Regions from separate parts of the Homo sapiens genome. Here all the other regions are linked to region 2. The links are contacts of gene promoters, found by promoter capture Hi-C in blood cells and fetal thymus (Javierre and others, 2016). All regions are on one chromosome and are shown on one strand. Each heading gives the region's core, a stretch centred on a gene start or on the middle of the fragment in contact. The rest is flanking DNA. Distances are from core to core; before and after follow the strand shown.

Region 1 (3,073 bases), core at 15-2,514, 560 kb after region 2:
AATGATGGATCTTGGATAGACCCAGAATGTTAGCACTTCAAAGTGAGGATGTGTAGACAAAGAATATAACTGCTTTATCCCTTTCCTAATTGCATGGCATCTCTAGCACAGGGAATGAAGGATTATTTAGGATAGAATCAGTATACTGGTTTGAAAAGCTTTGTGGATGAAAAATAAGGGAAATCAATTTGATGAGATGGCTAGTTTAAACCAAATTTGGGAGGTGGGATTTGAAAACTAGACACTGAAGAGCTTTATCTTTATCCCAATGTCAGTTGGAAAAAAAATTGTAGCAGGACGTTATGTTGTTGAATTGGTATTTAAATATTAATTCTAAGATTCATTGTGGTAAAGATGGTAATTTTTAATTTATAAATTTGATGCAATACTATGCTAAATTCCAATAAGATATTTTATGGAACTTGACTAGCCTATTCTAACATTCCCTTGGAAGATAAAGTCAAGAGTAAATAGCCATAATTTTTTAAACACATGGGGCTAAGGGGGAGGATGATTTTCTAGCTATCCTAAGCAACTTTAAAATTATAGCAATTAAAACATGAAATCTTGGCACAGGAATACATAAATAGAACCATGGAGCAGAAGAGAGAGTGTAGTTACAAACCAACTTGGAAATTTAGTGTATGAAGAGTGCTACCTTCATTATATACTACACTTCTAATCAGTGACTAGAGGGTTGTACTGTTTAAAGACATTAGAATAATTGGTTATCTGTTTGTCAGTTGGTATGGGATAGGTTTAGCCTTTCCTTATGCCATATACGACAATATATTTCAGGTGGACTTGTGCTAAATTTTATAAACCAAACAACACTAAAAATGTTTGCAAAAACTGTCGAAAAATATACTTAATCTTAGAGTGGGAAAGACCTTCCTAAGCAAGACACAACACCTAGAGTCGATAAAGGAAAGGACCGATAAGATTTACTGCATAATTTTTAAAACTGATATAATTGCAGACCCATAGACAAAATGTAAAAGTAAGTCACAGACTGGGAAGATTTTATTTGCAATATATATGCCAAAGTATCAAAATTGCTAACATGCAAAATAGTCAGCAAATAAACATAAAAAAGACAAACAGTCCAAGAGAAAATTGGGCAAAGGATATGAGTATGAATTCTCAGAAAAAAAATACAGTTGTCTAATAAACATTTGAAAAGATGATCAACGGCATTTGGATTTTGAGAAATACAAGTTATAGCACCAAAGAGATCCTAGACTGTTAAAAAGCATCAAAGAACCCATCAGATTGTTAAAAAATTAAAATGATGGATAATACTCAGTGTTGGCAAGTGCTTAGGGAAATAGGCACCTTTATATATTGTTAGGGAGGATGTAAATTGGCACAGCCTTTTTGGAGATATTTTGGCAGAATGCATCAGAATTAAAAATAGAAATACCAGCAGTGCTATTTCTACAAATTATGCTATAGATCTGTTCACACATGAGTGCTCTGATTTATGTGCAGAGATATGCATCACATCATTTTTTTCCAGTAGTGAAAAATTGAAGACAACATAAATATTCATCAATAGTGAATTGGATAAATAGATTATGCTATATCATACTTTGTAATAACACATTGCAGTTAAAAAGAATGAGGTAAATTTATATCTACCAACATAGAAAGATACAGAAGGTATGTTGTTCAGTGAAAATACAAAGAAAATACACATACTGCTATCCCTTTTGTGTAAAATGGGAAAAAAGCATAAAACATATACATATGTGTATGTAAAATCTTATATGCATATAAATATGTGTTTAAGTAAATGAATAGTTACTTACTGGCTGTGTGACTTCAGGCAAGATACTTAACCGCCTCAGCATTTTTTTTCATTGTGTGGAAAATAGAGATAATTTTACATGACCCCTAGGGTGGTATGATGTGAAAATTAAATAAATTAATCTATTTAAATTGCTTTAAATAGCGCCTGGCACATAGTAGGCACTTGAGTGTTTCTATTGTTCAGATGCATATTAAACTTGGAAAATTATTTTCTGGGCCAGGAGTGAGACTTAAGTCATAAGGGGGACTATAATTGTCCATATTATATACTTCATATTTTTATAATGTGTGCCTATGTATTGAATGATTAATTTTTTTTAAATTAAATGCTTATTCTAAGAATATGAGTTAAAAGATGATTATAGAAATCCAGGAACAAAGTAAAAGAGTCCTGAGCAAGGGCAGTGGAATTGGGAATGGAAAAGAGGTGCTACGTTTGGTGTTGGTTATGGGAAGCAAGACAGAGGGAGAAGGCTGAGGCAGCTCTCAGTTTTGGCTTTTGAGTGACTTGGAAAATGCTGAACCATGAAAAGAAATAGTGGAATTAGGAGAAGCTTTTTGTGGGGTTTAGTATTTTGGAATGAAGGAGGATTAGTGTCTTACTTGAGGCTGCTAAAACAGAATACCATAAACTATGTGGCTTAAACAACAGACTTTGGTTTCTCACAGTTCTGGAGGCTGGGAAGTCCAAGATCAAGGTACTGGTGGATTTGATTCCTGTTGAGTGTCCTCTTCGTGGTTTGCAGACAGCCACCTTCTCAATGTGTCTTCACATGGTGGAAAAAGAGATTGTCTCCCTGTGTCTCTTCTTATAATGACACTAATTCCATTTATTAGAGTTCCACCTTCATGACCAAATCACCTCTCATAGGACTCACATCTAAATACATGAGGGATTAGAGTGTTAACATCTAAATTTGCAGGAGACATAATCAATTTGTAACAATTTTGTTAGATTACATTGAGTTTAAGCTGAGGGCAACCCATCAAGTAGGAAATATTGAATAGACTGGATATGAAAACTGGAGCTCTGGAGAAAGTTGAACGTTCTACCACTTTGAAGTAGACCAGCAGAAGAAGCCTAAAGTTCTCAGTGTCATTTTAAGAGTTCCCATCTAATACTTGCATTACAAAAATCAAGAACTGTGGTATTATAGGATGATATGTGTCTAGGAGGACAAAGACCTGTTCTAGTGGTTTTGATTGTTGATTCTTTTTCTTTGGTAAACATACATTGAACAACTACCATGTGCCAGGCACT
Region 2 (3,202 bases), core at 577-3,076:
GATGAATAAATTAATAATACAGAAGATAGAGAGGATACCTATAGGAGCAAAATTCCTTGCATAGTCGACAGGGTCTGGGATCCACTGAAGAATTGCAAGGGTTGGCCTTAGATGTAACACAGGGAGAGCTCATCCCTTTTAATAGAGGAAGACAGAAAGGCTGGTACATTGGGTTGTAGGAGGATATATAAGGATATCAGTTAGGTGTTAAGAACAGAAAGACTGAGTTAACAGTGATTTAACAAAAGAGGAGAGTATTTCTCCTTTAAGTAAATTTTCAGGTAGGCAGCCTAGAGCTGATGCAGTGGCTCCATACCCAATTATCCAGGCTCCATCTATCTTGTTGCCATGCCAACCTCAACATGCAGCTTACACTTGCTGGCCTGAAAGTGAACTATTCCATCTCCTGCTATCATGACTGAATACTAGTCAAAGGGAAAAAGGGGGAAGTGGGAGGGGAAAGCACATACCTTTCTTAAAGAGCACAACCTAGAGATGGTCCCTATTCTGTTCATATCTCGTTGGCCTTAATTTAATCACATCATCACTGCAAGCTACAGTGGGGGCTGGGAAATTTGGTGTTTGAGGGGATGACCAAGCGCCCAACTGAAAATGTTATTCTTCTCTTATGAGAAGTAGAGAATGGATGTTAGGGAATGGCTAGAAGACTCTACTACAAAGGATACGGTGGTTCTTTTCTGATTGCTTCTAACTTCTCAATGAAAGGTGAGTTCATCAGCTGAATGAAAGAATAAATGAGATTTTGGGGACTTGAGGAGCAAGGAGAAGGAGTATAATAGTCATTTTGAAGAGTGAGTTAAGTAGGGAACTGTAGTAAGATTGACAGACAGTGTGGAGGGATTACTTGAATCTTGTGAATAGAGGAAAGAGTAGAATCAGATTATCCTGACTCCTGCCTGAAGCTTTACATATTCAGAGAAAAATGTTGGAAGAAACTTTGATATAATGCTATGTCTGTGATCAGGCACACATTTTACTGGACTTTTACTGTCAGGGCCGTCATTTAGTGCCAAGATGTCTAGAGAGTTCTTAATAAGTGTACTCAATTGGCTGAGAAAATGTGTCCATGCAAAAAACCAAACACCGCGTGTTCTCACTCATAGATGGGAATTGAACAATGAGAATACTTGGACACAGGAAGGGGAACATCACACTCTGGGGACTGTTGTGGGGTGGGGGGAGGGGGGAGGGATAGCATTAGAAGATATACCTAATGCTAAATGATGAGTTAATGGGTGCAGCACACCAGCATGGCACATGTATACATATGTAACTAACCTGCACATTGTGCACATGTACCCTAAAACTTAAAGTATAATAATAATAAAAAAATGTGTCCATGGCTCTGGGAGGAGCATGTTTGTTTTCCTCATTTCCCAGTCTGTAAATAAGCAAATTGAAAGGGGTTAGTGATAATGTCCATCTCCAGAAGCTGTCAGATTTCCTTTGTCAAACTCTATGATTTGGGCTGAAGTAGGTGTTGGAGAGGCAGCTACCACGTGCACCCAGATGGCCACTCGTTTAATATGTTACCATTTCCCATTATTTTCGCAGGATAGATAGCCAAAGTGGAGCCCTGAGAGATTTCTTCATTTTTCCTGTCATAAAGAATTGGTAATTCAGTAGTCATAGGAGTTTGTAATAAATAACTCACATTGATTTCTCTGTTCTGAAATAATTTTGCTTCCCCTCTTCCCGAAGCTCTGACACCTGCCCCAACAAGCAATGTTGGAAAATTATTTACATAGTGGCGCAAACTCCCTTACTGCTTTGGATATAAATCCAGGCAGGAGGAGGTAGCTCTAAGGCAAGAGATCTAGGACTTCTAGCCCCTGAACTTTCAGCCGAATACATCTTTTCCAAAGGAGTGAATTCAGGCCCTTGTATCACTGGCAGCAGGACGTGACCATGGAGAAGCTGTTGTGTTTCTTGGTCTTGACCAGCCTCTCTCATGCTTTTGGCCAGACAGGTAAGGGCCACCCCAGGCTATGGGAGAGATTTGATCTGAGGTATGGGGGTGGGGTCTAAGACTGCATGAACAGTCTCAAAAAAAAAAAAAAAAGACTGTATGAACAGAACAGTGGAGCATCCTTCATGGTGTGTGTGTGTGTGTGTGTGTGTGTGTGTGTGTGTGTGGTGTGTAACTGGAGAAGGGGTCAGTCTGTTTCTCAATCTTAAATTCTATACGTAAGTGAGGGGATAGATCTGTGTGATCTGAGAAACCTCTCACATTTGCTTGTTTTTCTGGCTCACAGACATGTCGAGGAAGGCTTTTGTGTTTCCCAAAGAGTCGGATACTTCCTATGTATCCCTCAAAGCACCGTTAACGAAGCCTCTCAAAGCCTTCACTGTGTGCCTCCACTTCTACACGGAACTGTCCTCGACCCGTGGGTACAGTATTTTCTCGTATGCCACCAAGAGACAAGACAATGAGATTCTCATATTTTGGTCTAAGGATATAGGATACAGTTTTACAGTGGGTGGGTCTGAAATATTATTCGAGGTTCCTGAAGTCACAGTAGCTCCAGTACACATTTGTACAAGCTGGGAGTCCGCCTCAGGGATCGTGGAGTTCTGGGTAGATGGGAAGCCCAGGGTGAGGAAGAGTCTGAAGAAGGGATACACTGTGGGGGCAGAAGCAAGCATCATCTTGGGGCAGGAGCAGGATTCCTTCGGTGGGAACTTTGAAGGAAGCCAGTCCCTGGTGGGAGACATTGGAAATGTGAACATGTGGGACTTTGTGCTGTCACCAGATGAGATTAACACCATCTATCTTGGCGGGCCCTTCAGTCCTAATGTCCTGAACTGGCGGGCACTGAAGTATGAAGTGCAAGGCGAAGTGTTCACCAAACCCCAGCTGTGGCCCTGAGGCCCAGCTGTGGGTCCTGAAGGTACCTCCCGGTTTTTTACACCGCATGGGCCCCACGTCTCTGTCTCTGGTACCTCCCGCTTTTTTACACTGCATGGTTCCCACGTCTCTGTCTCTGGGCCTTTGTTCCCCTATATGCATTGCAGGCCTGCTCCACCCTCCTCAGCGCCTGAGAATGGAGGTAAAGTGTCTGGTCTGGGAGCTCGTTAACTATGCTGGGAAACGGTCCAAAAGAATCAGAATTTGAGGTGTTTTGTTTTCATTTTTATTTCAAGTTGGACAGATCTTGGAGATAATTTCTTACCTCACATA
Region 3 (3,260 bases), core at 405-2,904, 580 kb after region 2:
AGTATCTTCAGGCATTAATTCACTTATTTAACAAATATTCATCAAGCACCCACTTCATGCCACTTCCCATTATTCCAGGCACCAAAATAGTAGATTCCACCTTCTTCATGGAATACATATTCCCATGATGAAGACAAATGACAGACAGGTAAATAAATATTATAATAGCTAATAGCATTTTAGGTAGTGATATGTACTATGGAGGAATTTAAAGGATGCTTGGGGATGGAGAGTGATGTGATGAATGATGGTTGTGGAAGACCTCTCAGAGGAGGTGGCTTTTGAGTGAAGACCTGAGTGAAGTGAGGGCAATGAGATTTAGGGGATGGGCATTTCAAACAGAGAAACAGCAAGAGCAGAGACTCTGATGTGGGCACCAGCCTGATTGGAAAGCTGACAGGTCAGTGTGGTGGAGTGGGAGGGAGTGATGGGAAGAGTTGGGATTAGAGTTTGATACAGGGCACACCATCTAGGACAATGTTCTCAACCCTATGACATCCAACTCTGCCTTGTTAGGTCCATTATTTCTTCAATTCTTCTCTACTAACCTGCAATGAAATTCATAGATAACATAACTTTCCCATGCCCATAATGAAAACTAATCAATATAATACCCTAATTGTAATGTAAGAGAGGAATAAAAAGAAATAAACTTATAATAAATAGTATACATTTTAGTACATAAATGCCATACCAGCACCCTTGCACCTATATGAAGACCCACCCTGAACGCAACAGCTACATATGCAGACCAGTGCAGGCATGCTGCACTGCTGACTTAAATCTCATGAGGGATGTCGTTCACCAGCAGCGTCCTGGTTTTCCAGACTGGTGAACACTTTTGGATACATTTTTGATCAAAGCAAAGTAAGTCTTCTTGCAAAATGCGCAGTACTTTGCATTCCTGGAAAATTTAGGAAGTTTTAAATCATGCAGAAAACTCTCTAACATATAAAAACAAGTTAGACTCTAAGCTCAGATACCAACACATAGGTTTTATTTTTGTTCGTTTGTTTGAGATGGAGTCTCGCTCTGTCACCCAGGCTGGAGTGCAGTGGCATGATCTCAGCTCACTGCAACCTCCACCTCCTGGGTTCAAGCCATTCTCCTGCCTCAGCCTCCTGAGTAGCTGGGAGTACAGACGCGCACCAACATGCCCGGCTAATTTTTGTATTTTTAGTAGAGATGGGGTTTCACCATGTTGGCCAGGCTGGTCTTGAACTCCTTAGATCAAGTGATCCACCCGCCTCAGCCTCCCAAAGTGCTGGGATTACAGGTGTGAGCCACCACGCCCAGCCCCAGCACGTAGGTTTTAATAGGTCATTCAGGAGTATACATCATGGGTCAATTCCTCTTTGTGAGAGATGCCCTTACACATTCTGGGACTCTTAAGTCCAGCATGCTCTTCCTCTCTACAGCTAACCGTGGCCCCCAATCATTATAACAACAAAAACTATTCCATCAAATTTTCAAACCACTTCTGAGGGGCAATTCTAGTGCCACTGGCAATCACTGACATAAGGCTTGGAGGTGAGGCTTTTCTAAATGTTAGTGAGCACCACTGATGAGTTTGAGTGGAGGTTCTGGTTTCTATGTTAAAAGGCAAATTTTATCTGTTGGTAGAGAACAGACAGAGATAGAATAGACAGGTAGAGAATAGAGTCAGATATGTAGGCAGGTTTAGAGGTCTCCTGGGCCCAAAGCCTTTAGAAGCAGCAAGCTGTGGCACGGTGATTCCCAAGCCGTAGTGCTGTACCACCAGAGGTGGAGGGTTTTGTAACAGTCCACCTACAAAAGTGATTTATCATCTCTGGAGAGCTTACCTGGCCGAGATCACTTATTTTTAAACTAGTTATTTTTATTTATTGTCATTACAATAGTTATTACCTAATGGTAAAAATGTTCATTTTGCTTATATGTAAAGCTGTAGCAAATAGACCTTATCCCAGAAAACATGATTGCAGTGTTTATGTCCTTAGTACTTGCTATAAATTATAATGGAATAGAATATCTTTGAACTATGTGCTCCTTGGAAGTTAGTTGGATCTCTTTGCTTCCATGGTGGTAATATTGTTCAGTGATGATTCTTTTGAGAGAATGAATGGTGAGAAATGGCGTATTATGATAAGGGAAGTTGATAACCATGAGCATAGTAGAAGCAGCAACTTCATGGTAATGACACAGATCTGAGTCTGAATCTGAGGTCTCGCTATTTACTTGTATGAATGTAGACATGCACTAAGTCTAAGTCCCTTGATTTTCTCATCTAGTAAATGATCTAACTAATACCTAGAATTAAATAGGGTAAGCTGTAAAATTGTCGAGGTAGATACATAGGAGGTGCAAACACAAATGCTAACCTCCTTGTTTGTAGTTATTCTTTCTAAACCTTCAGATTGTATGGATCAAGCTAGTTTCTTGGAGGCTGTGCGTGAGGACTTGAGAGATTTTATCTGTGGCCCATGTTTCTAACCATCTTCTTCTTCAAGCGGAGTCCTAGTGGAAGTCAAGACATGCATAATGTATTTTAAATAGTAGTTACCCTCCAAGAGTACGTTCTGCCCATAGTGATCACTGTAAAAGGCCTAGATTTTTCTCTAGGGCTACGAGCAGAGAAGTCCTACAACAATCCTCAGATTCTAGTCCCCGTGGAAAGGGTCGTGTTAGGACTTCTCTGCGTGGGGCAATGCCGGGCTTTAAAGCCTGGGATGAGGGCGAGTGTGTCTATTTTGAGAAGGCAGGTTGGTGTCTACAGAGATGGAATTAGACTAAAAACAAATGCCTGGGGAGCTGGGAAGAGACAGGAGACGAGGGCTTGGCTGTTGTATTCCAGGACAAATCTTTTTCTGGGTGAATTCCTTGCTGTGGACCCAGCTCAGTCCTGAATCTGAAGGGAGCATCTTCTGGCAATCACTAACAATTGCTGATAACTTGTCTTCCTTTGCTACATCTATAGACCACTTTTAAATAAGGAAATGGTACCATCCAAAATATCCGACTGCTTAGAACAAGTTATATTATTTTGAGGGAGCATGAAACTTAAAAAAATTTTCTATTATGTATAAACTTCTAACGGTGCTTTTTAAGGTTTGTGCTTAAGCATGTCTCTAATGGCTGAGGAGAGTGATGGCTTACTTCCAGGTTCAGGAAGCCGGGCCTCAAGTGGCCTGTACTAAGCACAGCATTTCTCTGAAGTCGTAGACTTTATGCTACATTCTAGATTTAGGGTTCTATTTCATTATGTCTGCATTTTTAAAATA

What was found. The method cuts DNA at HindIII sites, captures the fragments that hold promoters and counts their contacts. A CHiCAGO score of 5 or more calls a contact.
Region 1: a contact is called between a fragment that was not itself captured here and the fragment with the promoter of CRP in region 2, in 1 of 17 cell types (M2 macrophages). The highest score is 5.9, in M2 macrophages.
Region 3: a fragment that was not itself captured here is called in contact with the fragment with the promoter of CRP in region 2 in 1 of 17 cell types (erythroblasts); the score reaches 5.3 in erythroblasts.

The regions. Positions count from the first base shown.
Region 1 is chr1:159,157,357-159,160,429 of GRCh38, reverse strand. No RefSeq gene overlaps it. Among named protein-coding and RNA genes, the nearest start is that of CADM3, 13 kb to the left of the region's middle. The HindIII fragment of the contact is 2,208 bases long and covers 161-2,368 here.
Region 2 is chr1:159,713,213-159,716,414 of GRCh38, reverse strand. CRP (C-reactive protein) reads left to right here and starts at 1,826. Exons shown (of 2, transcript NM_000567.3): 1 at 1,826-1,990; 2 at 2,277-3,202. The coding sequence starts at 1,930. The coding sequence ends at 2,890. The HindIII fragment of the contact is 4,063 bases long and covers 926-3,202 here.
Region 3 is chr1:159,135,413-159,138,672 of GRCh38, reverse strand. It overlaps a transcript of AIM2 not described here. Among named protein-coding and RNA genes, the nearest start is that of TRR-TCT4-1, 4.6 kb to the left of the region's middle. The HindIII fragment of the contact is 4,258 bases long and covers 1-3,260 here.